3 separate regions of the Homo sapiens genome follow, and regions 2 and 3 are each linked to region 1. The links are contacts of gene promoters, found by promoter capture Hi-C in blood cells and fetal thymus (Javierre and others, 2016). All regions are on one chromosome and are shown on one strand. Each heading gives the region's core, a stretch centred on a gene start or on the middle of the fragment in contact. The rest is flanking DNA. Distances are from core to core; before and after follow the strand shown. Region 1 holds the start of NT5M (5',3'-nucleotidase, mitochondrial). Region 2 has its middle 13 kb from the start of SMCR2. Region 3 has its middle 22 kb from the start of MPRIP.

Region 1 (5,058 bases), core at 1,463-3,962:
ACAATTCAGGGAGCTCGAGGATCCTCCCCACATTAACCAGAAGAGCTCTGCTTTTATCGGTTTTATATGTTGAGGTGCCAATAAGTACATTTTTAAAAAAAGGATTCTGCTGCTTTTAGAGTTGCAAAGCAAAAATGCAGACCCTCATTTTACATGTCAGAAAACTGAGGCTCAGAACGGGGAAGAGATCCACCTGATGTCACACAGCAAAACAGCAGCTGAGCTGGGAGAAGAACCCCCAACACCAACCCTCTCCTCCCCACTCCCCAACCCCCGCTGCCTTTCTCCTTCCCCTGTTCTGCTGCAGGGCCAGAATGCAGCACCTTTTCTAGGGTCAGGCAAGGGGAAAGTGACAACCAGAGGGGAGACACATCTCAGCCTATGAGCAGGAGCCTAAATCCCACGTGTGCAGTACAGGAAGTGCCTCTACCAGCTGTTCTGCACACTACAGAAAGACAGCCACCCTGTCACATGGACGGCCGGAGGATGCCCTGACAGCATACCAGCAACACTCTCAGGAACCACAGGGACTAGGCAAATGCGTGCTTATTACTGAAACACATTTGATCCTCACATCCCACATAGGGTACTGTGAAGACCAAAGGGAATACAGACAGAGCAGAATTTTGAAAAGTAGAAATGCCTACATACACATAAGGAGCCACGTGTGTGGGGGCGGGGGGGGGGGGGCGGTTGTTTTAACCACAGATACTGGGCCAGCTTGGGGTAGGCCCAGGGATGTCCACAGCAGCAAGCCGTGCCTCAGGAAGGGAAGTAGTGGAAGCCAGCAGATTACTCCCAAGGCACCCTCCTTACTGCCCCGTGCCTTTGCCTTGTGCTTGGAAACCAGTAACCCCACACGTACAGAGCCTACATATTTGCACAAAGAACTGGAAAAGCTGCTGCACTTTTCGGAGTTGGGGGTGGGCTTGGTTTCCACGTTAATACACTCCCGGGCGGATATATGGTGTCCAGACTCCCCATGCCGAGCGCTGCCTATAAATGAACACTCGCCACACACTGGAGCCTATTCCTGAGGCTGCAGAAAGTACCAGGGCATTTTCTCCAGTTTAAAGTTTATCATTAGGCATCCGCTGTAGAAGAGCTCAGCACACTGGGCTCTGTGAAAGTCACCTTCTGAAGTGCCTGGTGTTGATGGAGACAAACGGTACTTGGTTTCCTTTTTTAACACCTGTCCCTCAACAAACCACATTACTGATGAGGCATCTTTCTGATGTCAGAAGAAATGTCACTTGTTAGAGACAGTAGTACAGAGAACAGGACTGTGGAGTGGGGAGCACTAACTGTGCTTGGGAGGCAGACAGACTTGGGTTTGAGTCCTGACTGAGCCCCTGAGCAGCATGTGACTTGGGGCAAGTTTCCTCATCTGGAAAACAGAGATAATAATATCTACCCAACAAAAGAGAGGATGCAGTGAACTTGTGGCTAAAAAACGGGCTCTTGTAACTTCCTTCTCCTCTTTATCAAACCCTCCAGCAGCAACCCTAGGTGGCCAATCAAGGGATGCCAAAAAACACTCAGCCTCTTTAATTTTGTGCATACCAAAATCCCCTGTTCCTTTTGCAAAATACTTCAAATTTACCAACCAAGATCTGTGTGTAAACGTCCCTCCTTGGATCTTTCCCCTCTATCCATCCTGGACAGAACACCTCGGGAGTCGGATGGTAGGGGTTGAGCTCAGGTGTTCAGCAAGGCCAGCTCTGCAAGGGGATAAGACATGAGGTGGATCCCACCTCACCTGGACCACTGACTCACTGTGTGACCCCCAGAAAGTCACACAACCTCTCTGGGCCTCAAATACCCCTGGAAGCTATGCTTTCATGGACAACAGTAAAAAAGATGGGTAAAGACACCCATCAAAGTCCTGGGGACAAAGAAGTGGGAATGTGACTGCGGTCGGGGTGAAAGAGGACAACTTATAACGTTTATTTTTCTAAAAATTTAACAAACGACTTGAGGCCAAATATGCCACAAATTTTGAAGTCAGCTTTAAATGCAGAGTTAGGTATATTAACACTTTGTACTCTCCCGCATTTTCAGAAACCTTGGATGGCAGCCAACAGATCCTGAGCGCGGGGCCGCATCTTCCCGGTGCGCTGTGGCCCCTAGTCCCCCCCAGACCCTATTCTATCAGAGGGCCACCCCGAGGCTGGGGCGCTGACCGTCCAAGGTCACCGGCGCAGGGGCGGTGTCTGGGGCTCGGGGCGAGAAGGAGGCCCGGCGCGGGGCGGGGCGGGGACGCTCACGCTCAGCCCTGGCCGCAGGCGGCCGTACTGCTCCGACACCCAGAAGCCGCGCCGGTCCTCCAGCGCGATGAAGGGCTGGTCGGGAAAGCGCGCGCGGAACTTCCTGAGGAATCCGCCCTCGAAGTCAGCCAGCACGCCGTCCATGTCCACCAGCACCCGTAGGGCGCGGCCTCCCGCCAGGCCCAGCCCGCCCGCCGCCCCGCGCCGCCCCGCGGGAACCGCCGCGCTGCAGAGCCGCCGCGCACACCAGCCGCCCAGCCGGATCATGGCCCAGCGCGCTGGCCCGTCGTGGGCGCGGGGACCTGGGCCGCGCCGTGCTGCCGGAGCCGGCCAGACATTCCCGCCGCGGAGGAGAAGCCCCCAACGCTGGGGCGCGCGTGGAGCGCGGGACGGGGAGCGGGGCGGGGAGCGCGGGGTGCGGGCGCGCAAGTACCGGCCCCAGAGCGAGGCCGCGGCGCGCGCGGTCCCTAAAGGAACACGCGCCGGCGGAGGCGGAGCCCCGGGGCGGGGCTTCGAGGACGGACAGCGGTAAGCGCCGCGCGCCTCCAGAAGGTCCGCGCTCCCGCGCTGTCGATTTGCGTCTTCTCCGTGGACCCTGGGCCCGGGCTGCCTTCTCCCACTGCACAGACTACCATGGAGGAGCAGTGCAAACCGAGAAGCAGGCCTGTGTCGTTAGACATTTTTGAGCACTAACTGTGTCGAGTGTGAACCAAATAGACAAAGTTCCTGCCATCCTGGAACTTACGTTTTAGAAGGGGATCCAGACAACAGGATGGAGGAACAAAAACAGGGTGCACTCTGAAAGCCTCTCTGCTTTATTTACAGCAAATGTCTGCGGAGAGACTGATAGAACCAATATCTGCTAACATCATACAGCCTTAGTAAAACTGATGATTCTCAGGTAAATATATGAATAAATATTAAGTACCCCTGTATTGCTTTTTTTTTTTTTTTTTTTTGGAGACGGGGTCTTGCTCTGTTACCCAGGGTGGAAGCAGTGGCATGATCTCGGTTCCCTGCAGCCTTGAGTTTCTGGGCCCAAGGGATCGTCCTGCTTCTGCCTCCTGAGTAGCTGGGACCACAGGGGCCTGCCACCACACCCTGGTAATTTTTTTTTTTTTTTTTTTTTTTTTGAGACAGGAGTCTTCCTATGTTGGGCTCAAACGATCCTCCCACCTCAGCCTCCCAAAGTGCTGGGATTACAGGCGTGAGCCACCGCGCCCGGCCTCTTTTCAACTTTTAAGTACAGGGATACATGTGCAGATTTGTTATATAAATTGACTGTCTTGGGGGTTTAGTGTACAGATTATTATTACCCAGGTAATAAGCGTAGTTCCTGATAGGTAGTTTTTCCATCCTCACCCTCCTCCCACTCTCCACCCTCAAGTAGGTCACCGTGTCTGTTGTCCCCATCATTACGTCCATGTTTACTTAATGTTTAGTTCCCGCTTTTAAGTGAGAGCATGAGGTATTTAATTTTCTGTTCCTGTGTTTGCTTAGGATAATTGTCTCCAGCTCCATCCATATGGCTGCAAAAGACATGATCTTATTCTTTTTTTATGACTGTGAAGTATTCTATGGTATATATGTACCACATTCTCTCCCTTTTTTTTTTTTTTTTCTTGATAGGGAGTCTTGCTCTTGTTGCCCAGGCTGGAGTGCAGTGGCAGGATCTCGGCTCACTGCAACCTCCACCTCCCAGGTTCAAGCGATTCCCCTGCCTCAGCCTCCCAAGTGGCTGGGATTACAGGCGCCCACCACCACACCCAGCTTTTTTGCATTTTTAGTAGAGACAGGGTTTCACTATGTTAGCCAGGCTGATCTCCAACTCCTGACCTTGTGATCTGCCCGCCTCGGCCTCCCAAAGTGCCGGGGTTACAGGTGTGAGCCACCGCACCCGGCCGATTTTTGTATTTTTAGTAGAGACAGGGTTTCACCATGTTGGCCAGGCTGGCCTCAAACTCCTGACCTCAGGTGATCCGCCCCACCCCCCTCGGCCTCCCAAAGTGCTGGGATTAAAGGCGTGAGCCACTGCACCCAGCCTGTGTTACAGCTCTTTTAGCCCCACCATTTGGCAGGTCCCGAGTTCTTGTCCTGCATCCAGGAAGAATGGGGTAGGCAGACAAGTGGAGAGTGAGCAAGACGAAGAGGAGCTTTATTGAGCAACAGAATACTTCAGAAGAGACCTGCAGTGGGCAGCTCCTCTCCATAGCCAGGGTTTCCCCACAAGTGTTCAGCTTTCAGCAGAGAGGGTAGCTCCTCTCTGGTAGGCAGTTCATCCCAACAAGTGTCCAGCTCTCAGCAGAAAGGGTAGTTCCTCTCTGCAGCTGGTTTTCTCCCCATCTACCCGTCCTCTCTTTGAGTCTGGCTGAGTCCAGGGTTTTTTATGGACCTCAGAGGGGAAGAAGTGAGTGCTGATTGGTCCATGGGCGGCCATAGGTGGCCATGAGCAGGCCTGGGGAAAAGCACCACAAGTTCCCCGCTCTGGTACTGGGACTGGTGACCTGGCCCCCAGGCTTCAGGCCCTTCCAGGATTGAAGGTGGGGCTTCACCAGGGACCCGCCCCCTTCCACCGAGGAGCTGTCTGCATTCCTGCTGCTGTTCATGGCGCCCAGGCTGTTCATGCCAAGGGGTACCTGCAGGCCAACACCAGGCTGTCCTCATGCCCCCCTCGGCCGTTCTCCGATGCTTGTTGGCACCCAAGTCCGGAGGGGGCCAAGGAGGCAGGGGGCTGGCGTGTCAGTGCTGCCCTGAGCGTGTGCACTCCCGGCTGGGCTGTGACGGCGCCCTA
Region 2 (5,058 bases), core at 1,859-4,358, 360 kb before region 1:
TGTGACCTTGGGCAAGTCACATCACCTCTGAGCAGGCACTTCCTCCCCCTGTAACTTGGAGCTGCTAACAGCTTCTCTGTGGGGCCGTTCAGAGGTAAGCTGCACAGAGGACTTAGCTGTTGCTTCTGTGAGCCTTGGTTTCCTAATCTGTCAAGGGCTGTGGGAAGATGAAGTGAGACACTGTGGAGGCCCAGCTTGGAGGCCACGGTGTGCCTCCCCTGAATTCATACCTTCCTGCTCCCAGGACCTACCCATCCGTCTCTCTGTGCTCCTCACTCTACTTCTCTGAGAGCCCCACTGTTCTGGGGAGCTCTCACCAGCCATGGTCACAGGCTCTTGGGGCCTATGGTGTCAGCGCTGATGGGGTCTCAGGTCTGTCACTGTACCCGGCCCCACAGCCAGAGCTAAGTTTGGGAGCTGGCCACGGAGTGTCTGCGGCTCATGATGGTAGGCTGAAAAATGGCCCCTAAAGATATCCAGGTCCTCATCCCTGGAACGTGTGGGTGTCCCCTTTACAGCCAAAAAATGGGCTCCTGCAGATGTGCAAAGTTAAAGGTCTTGAGATAAGGAGATGATCCTGGGCTATCTAGGGGTTCCTTAAATGCTGTCCCTAGTGTCCACAACAGAGAGAGGCTGAGGGAGACTCGACAACACAAGCACGGAGGAGGAGACTGCGCGGCCACCGAGGCAGAGACCAGAGTGATGCAAACACAGCCAGGGATCACCAGGGCAGCTGGCTGAGGCTGCAAGGGGCCCTGCACAGGTTCTCCCCTGGCGCCTCCGAGGGGGCACAGCCCCACAGACGCCATGACTCGAGACCAGTGATACTGATTTTGGACACCCAGTCTCCAGAACTGCAAGAGAATCATTTCTGCTGTTCTAAGCCCCGACATGTGTAGTAACTCTTTACAGCAGCAACAGGGAACGAACACTCACAGCTTAGGATTTCCTGGCTACCGCCCAGACCTCGCCCTGCCTCATGTCCATCCAGAGCTGGGCGTGAGTGTGTAGGGTGTGCAGGTGGCCATTTACTCCTGTAGGCCAGCAGGGGCCCGGGGATCCTGGGCAGGTAGAGGGGATGGAGGATGGACAGGCTCTGGAAGCCCAGACCACGTGGATGTTCTGTGAACTGCTGGACCCTCAGCCCAGGCCCAGGAGCATGGGAGGAGTAAGCCACAGAGCATGTGTTGGCTGCTTGTGTCCACACACAGCTGGGGGGTGTGTTTGGTGCATGTCCACGTGGTGGGTTGTGCGGGTATAGAGGTGGGGAGTAGGCACTTGTGCACCTGGTATAGACCCAGTGGAAAACCCAGGTGTGCCAGAAACAGCCAGCTTCCTTTTTTCTTTTTCTTTTTTTTTTTTTTTGAGATGGATCTCACTCTGTCACCCAGGCTGGAGTTCAGTGGTGTGATCTCGGCTCACTACAACCTCCACTTCCCGGGTTCAAGCGATTCCCCTGCCTCAGCCTCCCAAGTAGCTAGGATTACAGGCGCCGGCTGCCACGCCCGGCTAATTATTTTGTATTTTTAGTAGAGATGGGGTTTCAGCATGTTGGCCAAGCTGGTTTCGAACTCCTGACCTCAAGTGATCCACCCTCCTCGGCCTCCCAAAATTCTGGGATTACAGGCATGAGCCACCACGCCCAGCCCCTTTTTTTCTTTAAATCATCTTACATCCTGTTCTAAGCCCCTATCCTGCTGGCTGGTGGGCAACTGAATCTCAGCCATTATTGGGAGCTTCTTTCTTCTCCAGAGCCACACAAAGGTCCCAAGGCCATGATGAGTCTGGCCACCGGGTCTGGCAAAGGAGGCCAGCAAAGCTCTCTGAGACAAGCTAGGGACCAGGCTGCCTGCACTGGAGCATGGGGTGGGGTTAGTAAAACAGAACAAAACCAAAATTAATATCTGCTGTTTGTCTAGAACCCTGGAGCTTTGCTGCTCAATATGGTTGTCATTAGCCACGTGTAGCTAGGTACATTTCAATCAATTTAAAAGAAATAAAACTTAAAATTGTGTGTGTGTGTGTGTGTGTTTCTTTTAGAGTCTCACTCTATCACCCAAGCTGGAGTACAAATGGTGCGGTCTCAGCTCACTGCAACCTCCACCTCCCGGGTTCAAGCGATTCTTCCGCTTCAGCCTCCCTAGTAGCTGGAACTATAGGCACATGCCACCACACCCGGGTAATTTTTGTATTTTTGGTAGAGACAGGGTTTCACTCTGTTGGCCAGGCTGGTCTTGAACTCCTGACCTTGTGATCCGCCTACCTTGGCCTCCCAAAGTGCTGGGATTACAGGCATGAGCCACCGCGCCCGGCCTTTAAAATTGTTATTATTATACTAGTCACTTTCTGGTGTTCAGGAGCGGTGTGTGGCCACCCTGTGGGACCTGGTATAGGAAGTTCTATTGGGCTGTACTGCCAGAAGCGTTCAACCACTGACATGAGTTCTGCCCCTCTGAGTGGGGTGACCTGCCCATTTACAGATGGGGATGCAAGGATCAAGCACAAAATGACTTACCCAAGGTCACTGGCAGCAGTTGGCACCTCCAAGCTCCATGGGCAGTGGCACCCCGGGCCACGGGGTAGAGTGGGTGCTTGCCAATGTTGGCTGCTGAGTGAACGTGCCAGTGCCGTCCTCTGCCTCCTTGGAGGAAAGCTGCCTGTGAAGAACAGTCCTGCCCTCGTTCAGAGGTACGGCCTCCTGATCTCAGCCTGGTAAGGCACTGTGTGGCTCTAGCCCTACCTCAGGTACCACACTTTGCCTCTTTGGGACCCTGTGTCCCCGTCCATGAGATGGAGATTGTGACCACTGCATAGGGCTGCCTGGGATTTCCATGAGTTAATGTCTGTGAAGTGCATAGTACAATCTAACTCAATCATACGACGTTTGAGAGATGATGGGATTTGGCACACAGGAATGAGCACTGCGCCTCCTCAGAGTGACTCCCAGAGGTCAAGTTGGGATTTACTTAGACTGAGACCCGCAACCTTATCATGCTTCTAGCATTCATCTGACAAACATCTATTAAGCTTGCTTTTGGGGGCCACGACCGATGTAAGCCTGCAGCTGTGAGGTCTACCCTAGGCTAGGGAAGGTTATTCTGAGAAGAAAGTGAACCCCAAGGAAGGGGAAATCCAGAAGAAGATTCCTGATGACATCTGACAGCTGGATCCAGCTGTTCCTGAAGCTTTTATATTCCTGTTTTGTTTGCCAATAATTTTTTTTGTCATTTACAACTCAAAGCCAGGCCGTCTGGTCCAACCCCTTGTCCCCTGATACTTGATGCTTCTCCATAGCAGCTATGACAGTCTCTGCTTGGATGCTGCTCATGATGGGGATCTCACTACCTACCAAGGGAGCTCTACAAGGGCAGAACCAACTCTGGTGCAAGTGAGAGCTGATAATCTATTGCTCTTGTCTGGAAATGGTGTGCACAGCTGGGAGCTCCCCTGGATTGGATTCAGGGCAGTGGAAAGAGGACCCTTCATGGTTCAGTAGACCTGAATTCAAATTTCAGGCCTGGTGGTGACTCACTGTGTGACCTGAGTGAGGCAAGGGACTTCCCCTACCTGAACCTCAGTTTCAACATCTGTAAAATGGTCTCCCTGGCCACACTGATTTGGTGAGGACACCACGAGGATTAAGCAAGAAAATGTGTGTGAAGCTCTGGGCGCACGCCAGTGTGTGGCACACAGGGGACACCTGAGGGCCACATCCCTCCTGTGGGTAATGCTAATGGACACTGCACACCCATCTGAGAGGGTCCACTCTGCGTCCATAAGAGGTTGGCACTGGGGAGTCCGCACTGGGCCAGGCTGCTCCTGCTCTGCGGAGCGTCTGCTGCAGCTGTGACTCACAGCCCGACCACACTCACAGCCCAAGACTCGGAGCCGTCTGTTGTTATGGCGACGCAAGCCCACTGGAGTCCTGGGCTGTCAGTCATCAAGGTCTGACGCTGGGGGTGTGTTTTGGCGTGTGGGTGTGGCCTGTGTGTTTGTGTAGGGGGATGGGCGTGTGAATGCTATTCCTGCGTGTTCAAGGCAGTGTGCTGGTGTTTGTGTGTGGACTTCCTGTGTGTGCAAGGCTGGGCATGTCTGCATTGAGGGCGTTTGTCTGTGTGTGGTGTTGAGCTGTGTGTGCGGTCTGGGTGTCTGTGGGCTGTGTGTGTGTGTAATGTGCCTTAGGAACGCTGGCCCTGAGGCAGGGTGGACAGGAGGGTGGCCCAGGGAGGGGTGTAGGCCTGGGTGTCTATCGCTCTGACCTGGTGGCCCTGGGTTGGTCACTGCACCTTTCTCAGCCTGTTTCCCCCTCAATAAGCACAGCAGGTTGCAAAGGGCACTCACACTCGCTATTTCATTTAATCCTCCTGTGATCCTGTACCAGCAGCTGCTCACTCAACTCATATTTAGAGTCCACTCTGTGTCAGGCCCTGGGGATACAGCCATGAACAGAGACTTCCTCCGCTGAGGGTCTCCAGTCTCCAGTCTGGTGGGAGATGGACAATACACAAACAAGCAAACAAAACCAGAGACTCCAGTGGGTGCTGGGAGAAGGAACAGCAGGAGGAGGGCACAGAGAGTGATGGGGTGGAAACTGAGGACAGGGTGGTCAGAGAGGTGACTTATGAGCAGAGGTTCTGAGGAAGGAGGCCAGAGTCATGGGAAGAGCATCGCAAGCATCGCAACAGTAAGTGCAGAGGCCCTGAGGCAGGTGGAGGTTCATGTATCTGTGGCCCAACGAGCAGGCCGCGCACTGCAGCGGTGTGGGTGGGATGGGCAAGGCCACTGCCATTTGCAGTTTGTGGATTCCAAGGCAAGTGCACTGGTGAAAACAGCCCATTGTTCATCCACTGATGAATGGAGAGGCAACATGCGGTATGTCCAGACAAGGAAATAGTATTTGTCAATAAAAAGGAACAAATGGCCAGGCGCGGTGGCTCATGCCTGTAATCCCAGCACTTTGGGAGGCCAAGGCGGGCAGATCACTGAGATCAGGAGTTTGAGACCAGCCTGACCAACATGGAGAAACCCTGTCTCTACTAAAAATACAAAATTAGCCAG
Region 3 (5,058 bases), core at 1,850-4,349, 280 kb after region 1:
TGAAGCATGGCAAATGTTCACATGTGTTAAATCCAAGTGGTGAGAACATGGATATTTGGTATTTTTCCTTATATTTTTCTGGATGTTTGAAAGGTTTTATAATTTTTATGTTAATAAATATCATTTCAAAATATGTATTGAAGGAGAAAGAGGAATCTCCAGGCGCAGAAGGGAGGGGAGTTGTTGACATGCTAAAGAAAAAGATGGGTCTGGTATTAGGAAAACAGCAAAGGATTCCTGAACCTTCTTTCTTGACTTCCTGTTCCGAGTGTCACAGGGACAGGGATGTTACTTAGCAGCCTCAGCCTATGAGCCCCACAAGGGTGGGGACCAGTCTGTGGTATTCTCAGCTCCCTTCCCAGCAGGGCCTGGCCCAGAGGCAGTGCTCAGGGAAGGTGTGGGATATTCCCTGAGAGTGGGAAGGGGCCACCAGGCTGCTGGGTTGGACCTGGCTCCCCAGCCACTGCAGCCTTCCCCTCTCCCAGCCAGCAGGCTCAGCTCCAGCCCCAGCCCCACTTCAGTAACCGCCACGCGCATTGATGGGGAACTCACTGCCTTAGGAGGTGGTCACCCCACTGCTGACCACCAGGGAGGGGCGCCCATAGCCCCTTCTACTTGAGAGATAGTCCAGTGGCAAGCCCAAGGTGAAAGGCTCAGAGGACAGATGTGTCTGGGGACATGGAGTGGTCTCACCTGTCGCCACTGACCCTGTGCCTGGTACTGGTCCTGGGCTTTCCTTGTGTTTCATTCTCCCAACAGCTGCAAGAGAAGGACTCTAATGATCCCATGGAAAGATGGGCTCCAAGGGGCACAGTGCTGGCCAGATGTCCCATGGCCAGGACCCGAGCTCATTCTGCACACCATGCCCTCCTTATTAACTCATCACACCCAGCAGCAGACCCAAGGCCCTGGGACTGAGACCTGCCTCTGCCCAGGGACTCCCAAGCTCACCTGGTCATCAAGCCTCCACTGCCCTAGCCCGGGGTGGGTTGCCTGCATGGCACCCCGGGCAAGGAAGATCTGGGCCTACCGGATGAGCTAGGTCTGTCAGCCCTTTTGTTTATAGAAGCTTTTGGGGGGCCTTGTGGCCAGGTGTTGAAACAAAGGTGTCTGTGTCTCCATAAGTCCATTTGGATTTCATCCTACTTGCGTAGGATGAAAAATCTACATTTTTCACCCAAGATGATGCCTTATCTGGCAAACACTGTGCCGTGATGGGTTTATAGGCGCTGTGGCTGAAAGGCAACCCTAGCCCTAAAGGAGAGGCTGTTTCAGATTCCCCTGTGAGCTGGAAGTGGTGGGAGGAGAGCAGGCTTCCTTATCCCAGTGTCATGACCAGGCCAGGCCAGCCCTGCACCCTCTTCACCAAGGTCCTGCCTAGCTCTGCTCCGGGGCAGGCTGAGCTGGGAAACAAGTCAGTAAGTCCATAGTACAGCTGGGGGCCCCTCCTTCAGTGAAAAGGCACAATCGTGCTTCTCAGGAACCAGCTTCAGATGGAGCCCAGAGGGGTGGGAGGGAGGGGACTGGTCTCCCCTCCTACCACACTGGCATTCTTTCCTCAAAACCTTGCAAAATATGACTGTGCGGCTCCCTGCTGTGGCACGGCACTTGTGGCATCATCGAAATGCCAGTAGGGGCTGGCACCGGGCTGCCCACGGCCCCAGCAGGCACTGTCCCCGCTCCCCTGGGCTATGAGGAGCTAAGCGGGTGGGCCCCTCCCACTTCGTCTGAGGCCCAAGAATGCTGTCATCTGGCCACCCACAGCTTTATCAGTGTGGCCTTTCTCAGGATTGCTGGGACAAAGGGCGTGGGTGTTTTCAGGACTCCGGCGGATTCTGGGAATGTCTCTGCCTTCCCAAATCGCCAGTTCCCGGAGGAGGACAGGACCCTCACCCACCTCCTCACTAAAGGAGAAACTGAGGCCCAGAGCAGGGTAGGGACTTGTCTGAGGTCATGCCTGCTTTGTTGGTGAGAATCGGACCTTACTTACCATTTCTGGGTCACAGGCTCCTTTGACAATGTGAAGGAAATTCTAGACCCATTACTCCAATGCCCAAGGGCCAGGCCTGCGGTGTTGATGGCTGGCATGGTCTGCTCGGCATGGGATTTGTCTGGAGCCCATGTCCCCCACCTCTGGCTCACTGTGGCCCTGCAGGGCACCCGGTCGTCCAGTGTTTCAGAGGAGCCAAAGAGCCATCTTTCTGTGTGAAAGCTACTCATGTTCAAATGTTGGCAATGCATTAAAAATGTAAAACTAGACCGGGCACGGTGGCTCACGCCTGTAATCCCAGCACTTTGGGAGGCCAAGGCAGGCGTATTACGAGGTCAGCAGATCGAGACCATCCTGGTTAACATGGTGAGACCCTGTCTCTACTAACAATACAAAAAAATTAGCCGGGTGTGGTGGCGGGTGCCTGTAGTCCCAGCTACTCGGGAGGCTGAGGCAGGAGAATGGCGTGAACCTGGGAGGCGGAGCTTGTAGTGAGCTGAGATGGCGCCACTGCACTCCAGCCTGGGCAACAGAGTGAGACTCCGTCTCAAAAAAAAAAAAAAAAAAAAGGTAAAACTATATATTATGTCAGCCCAATTAAACATCTGTGGGCCAGATGCGGGCTGAGGACCACCAGAATGGGACCCTTGCTCTCGATCCTCTTCCTGTGAAAAAGCGCACACCATAGCATGGGCCTGGGAAGCTCATCACCCAGGCAAGAGGCCTGTCACCTGAAGCTGGTGGCCATGCGGTTTCCGTGACAGGCACTGGTGGAGTTGACAGAGTTCTGGACAAGGAGTCGCAGGCTGGCCGTCAGGCTGGCTTGCCCAGACTTGCCATGAGGAACTCCACAAGCATCTCTTTCCAGTTGAAGAGCCTGGAGCCCAGAGTGGCCGAACAAGCTGGCCAGGCCCCCCGCCGAAGGAGTCAGGGAGCTGGGAGGAGGTGAGGTCAGAGCGGAGGTGGCTCATCACTCCGGGCCGTGGCTTGAGGAAGCAGAAGAGGGTGGGATCCAACTTTGTTCCTGCACTTGGCCCTTAATTTGTTGAAGCTCAGTGGTCAGTTCACATCGGGGGTCAGAGTGACTCTGGGGTGCGAGATGACTAAGTACCCACAGGGCCCAGGCTGGGGACACAGCCTTCCCAAGGAGTCAGACACAGCCAATTCTCACTCCTGGACAGGGAGGTGAGCACAACATACCAATAACAAGCTCTGGGGACCCTGGATAGGGGGCTGGGCCGCCTGGCCTTTCGCCTGCTGCCCAGTTGTGTGTGAGAGGCAGTAATCACCTCCCTGGTTCAATTTCCTTCTCCCTTCCCACCCAAAGTTTCTTACCTGACAGATTGGGGGCAGTGTGGGGTGGTGAGAAGAGAGCAGTCTGGGACCAGGTGCACCTGTCTAGGTACAATTCTGGGCCAAGGGACCTTGGGCCATTCCCTTCCCTTCTCTGAACCTGTTTCCTGAAGTGTTAAGTGAAAAGGGGCAGTGGAGAGTGGGGCACGAGGTCACCAATGGAAAGCCACGTCTGGGCCACTTCACGCCCTCTCCCCTTCCCAGGTGCCCTGCAGTGAAAATGGTCACATCCCAGCTGTCGCTCTCCCTTCCTGTGGTCCAGATCCCAAGTCCTGACTGCAGAGTCTGCTAAAAACACAAATCGAGTCTGGCCACCTTCCACCTCACCCTCTCCTCTTGGCTCCTCCATGCCCCCAGAACCACACTTGGTTGCCCCCATGGCTTCCTGGCCCTGAGGCCTGCTCCCCACCCCCGCTGCCATGTCCTTTCTCCCCACTGCCAGCCTCTGTTCAGGACCTCAAAATCCTCATTCTTTCCTGCCTCGGGACCTTTGCACTCACCATGCCCCAACCCAAGCTAGTCTTTGTAGTCCGCCCCCTCCAAGCCACCTTCCCCACTCCCCCAAAACAACCTCCTCTGTCCTTGGCCCTCAGAGCTGCCCATGGAGCTGCCACCATCCCCCTGCCTTGAGTTCCCATCTCCCTGTGTGCCCACTTGGTTCTCATCTGCCCCCTGCCCCACCAGGATGGAAGATCCATCAGATTAGGCAGCAGACCCCTCCTGCCCGTCCCATGTCCCCAGCTGAACTGGAATGTTCAGCAACCATGAATGAATTCTGGAATCTATATTGGGCCTTAGACAGGCCAAACACTCTGTCCTGGGCTGTGGCCCTGGGCAAGTCTGGTGTGAGCCCTGTCTAGGGAGGGGCCCTGGAGGGGGAAAGCTGCCTGATGGTCCTCGCCTGAGGACACCTGCCCCTGAGCGTGGATATGGGCCCTGAAGCTCTGTACCCGGCCAGACAGGTTCGACAGGATTGCTGTGGACAGAACTCACTCAGCCTCTGTTCAGAACAGCGTGTCCCTCACCTGCGGGAGGTCTGAGGGCTCCTGGCCCAGGAGGTCTGGCTGAGCCTCTCTCTCCCTGGCCTGGGGACTCTTCCTCAGCCTCCCTGGCCTTCAGGGCCCACCTCACCATCCTCCAACAACACCTACCAGGAGTCTGCGATGCACAGGGGCTCTGCCTGGAGTTGGGGGTTCAGCGGTGAGCAGGAAGGATGGATCCCAACCTTTTGTGGGAGTCATAGTTCAGGAACATCAGGTGACATCGAGTGGCTAGGGCCTGAGAGTGGGGATACATGTATGTCTCTGGGAAGAGCCCTGGCTATGGTGGGCTCCCCCGACCTGAGAGGAGGATCTGAGCGTATGTGGAGGGGTCCAGAAAACACCAGTTGCTGAGTCAGGAAATGAGGCAGGAAGTGAGGCAGGCAAGAGAAAGAGCCGAGGCAGGCTGTGCCAGGGAGCACTCTGGGCACCTGAACCTCCATCCCTGGGGGAGGATCCCTTCCTGGCGGGGTGGAGGGGGTGACAGGGAGCGCTGTGGGCACATGGAGCTCCCTCCCTGGGGGAGCAGAACATACCTCAGAGGCTCCCCAGCCCGGCCAGCCAGCTGGGGTGTTGAACCCAACTCTCACGGGCATTGGCTGCCAGCAGTTCTGGGTTGATGGTGATGGAGCTGGTTCTGCGGTTCCCCGTGGGGTGCAATGTGTCGCAGAGAAA

Evidence for each region. Contacts are between HindIII fragments. The CHiCAGO score rates a contact against its expected background, and 5 or more counts as called.
Region 2: a contact is called between a fragment that was not itself captured here and the fragment with the promoter of NT5M in region 1, in 1 of 17 cell types (M1 macrophages). The highest score is 6.3, in M1 macrophages.
Region 3: a fragment that was not itself captured here is called in contact with the fragment with the promoter of NT5M in region 1 in 3 of 17 cell types (non-activated CD4 T cells, activated CD4 T cells and naive CD4 T cells); the score reaches 7.7 in non-activated CD4 T cells.

What each region holds. Positions count from the first base shown.
Region 1 is chr17:17,301,027-17,306,084 of GRCh38, reverse strand. It overlaps NT5M (5',3'-nucleotidase, mitochondrial), which reads right to left and starts at 2,712. Exons shown (of 5, transcript NM_020201.4): 1 at 2,268-2,712. The coding sequence starts at 2,534. RefSeq lists silencers at 2,143-2,332, 2,463-2,562, 2,613-2,782 and an enhancer at 4,756-5,058. The HindIII fragment of the contact is 19,177 bases long and covers 1-5,058 here.
Region 2 is chr17:17,662,353-17,667,410 of GRCh38, reverse strand. No RefSeq gene overlaps it. Among named protein-coding and RNA genes, the nearest start is that of SMCR2, 13 kb to the left of the region's middle. RefSeq lists enhancers at 3,589-3,728, 4,219-4,308. The HindIII fragment of the contact is 158 bases long and covers 3,030-3,187 here.
Region 3 is chr17:17,018,053-17,023,110 of GRCh38, reverse strand. No RefSeq gene overlaps it. Among named protein-coding and RNA genes, the nearest start is that of MPRIP, 22 kb to the left of the region's middle. RefSeq lists an enhancer at 2,392-3,339. The HindIII fragment of the contact is 4,056 bases long and covers 1,072-5,058 here.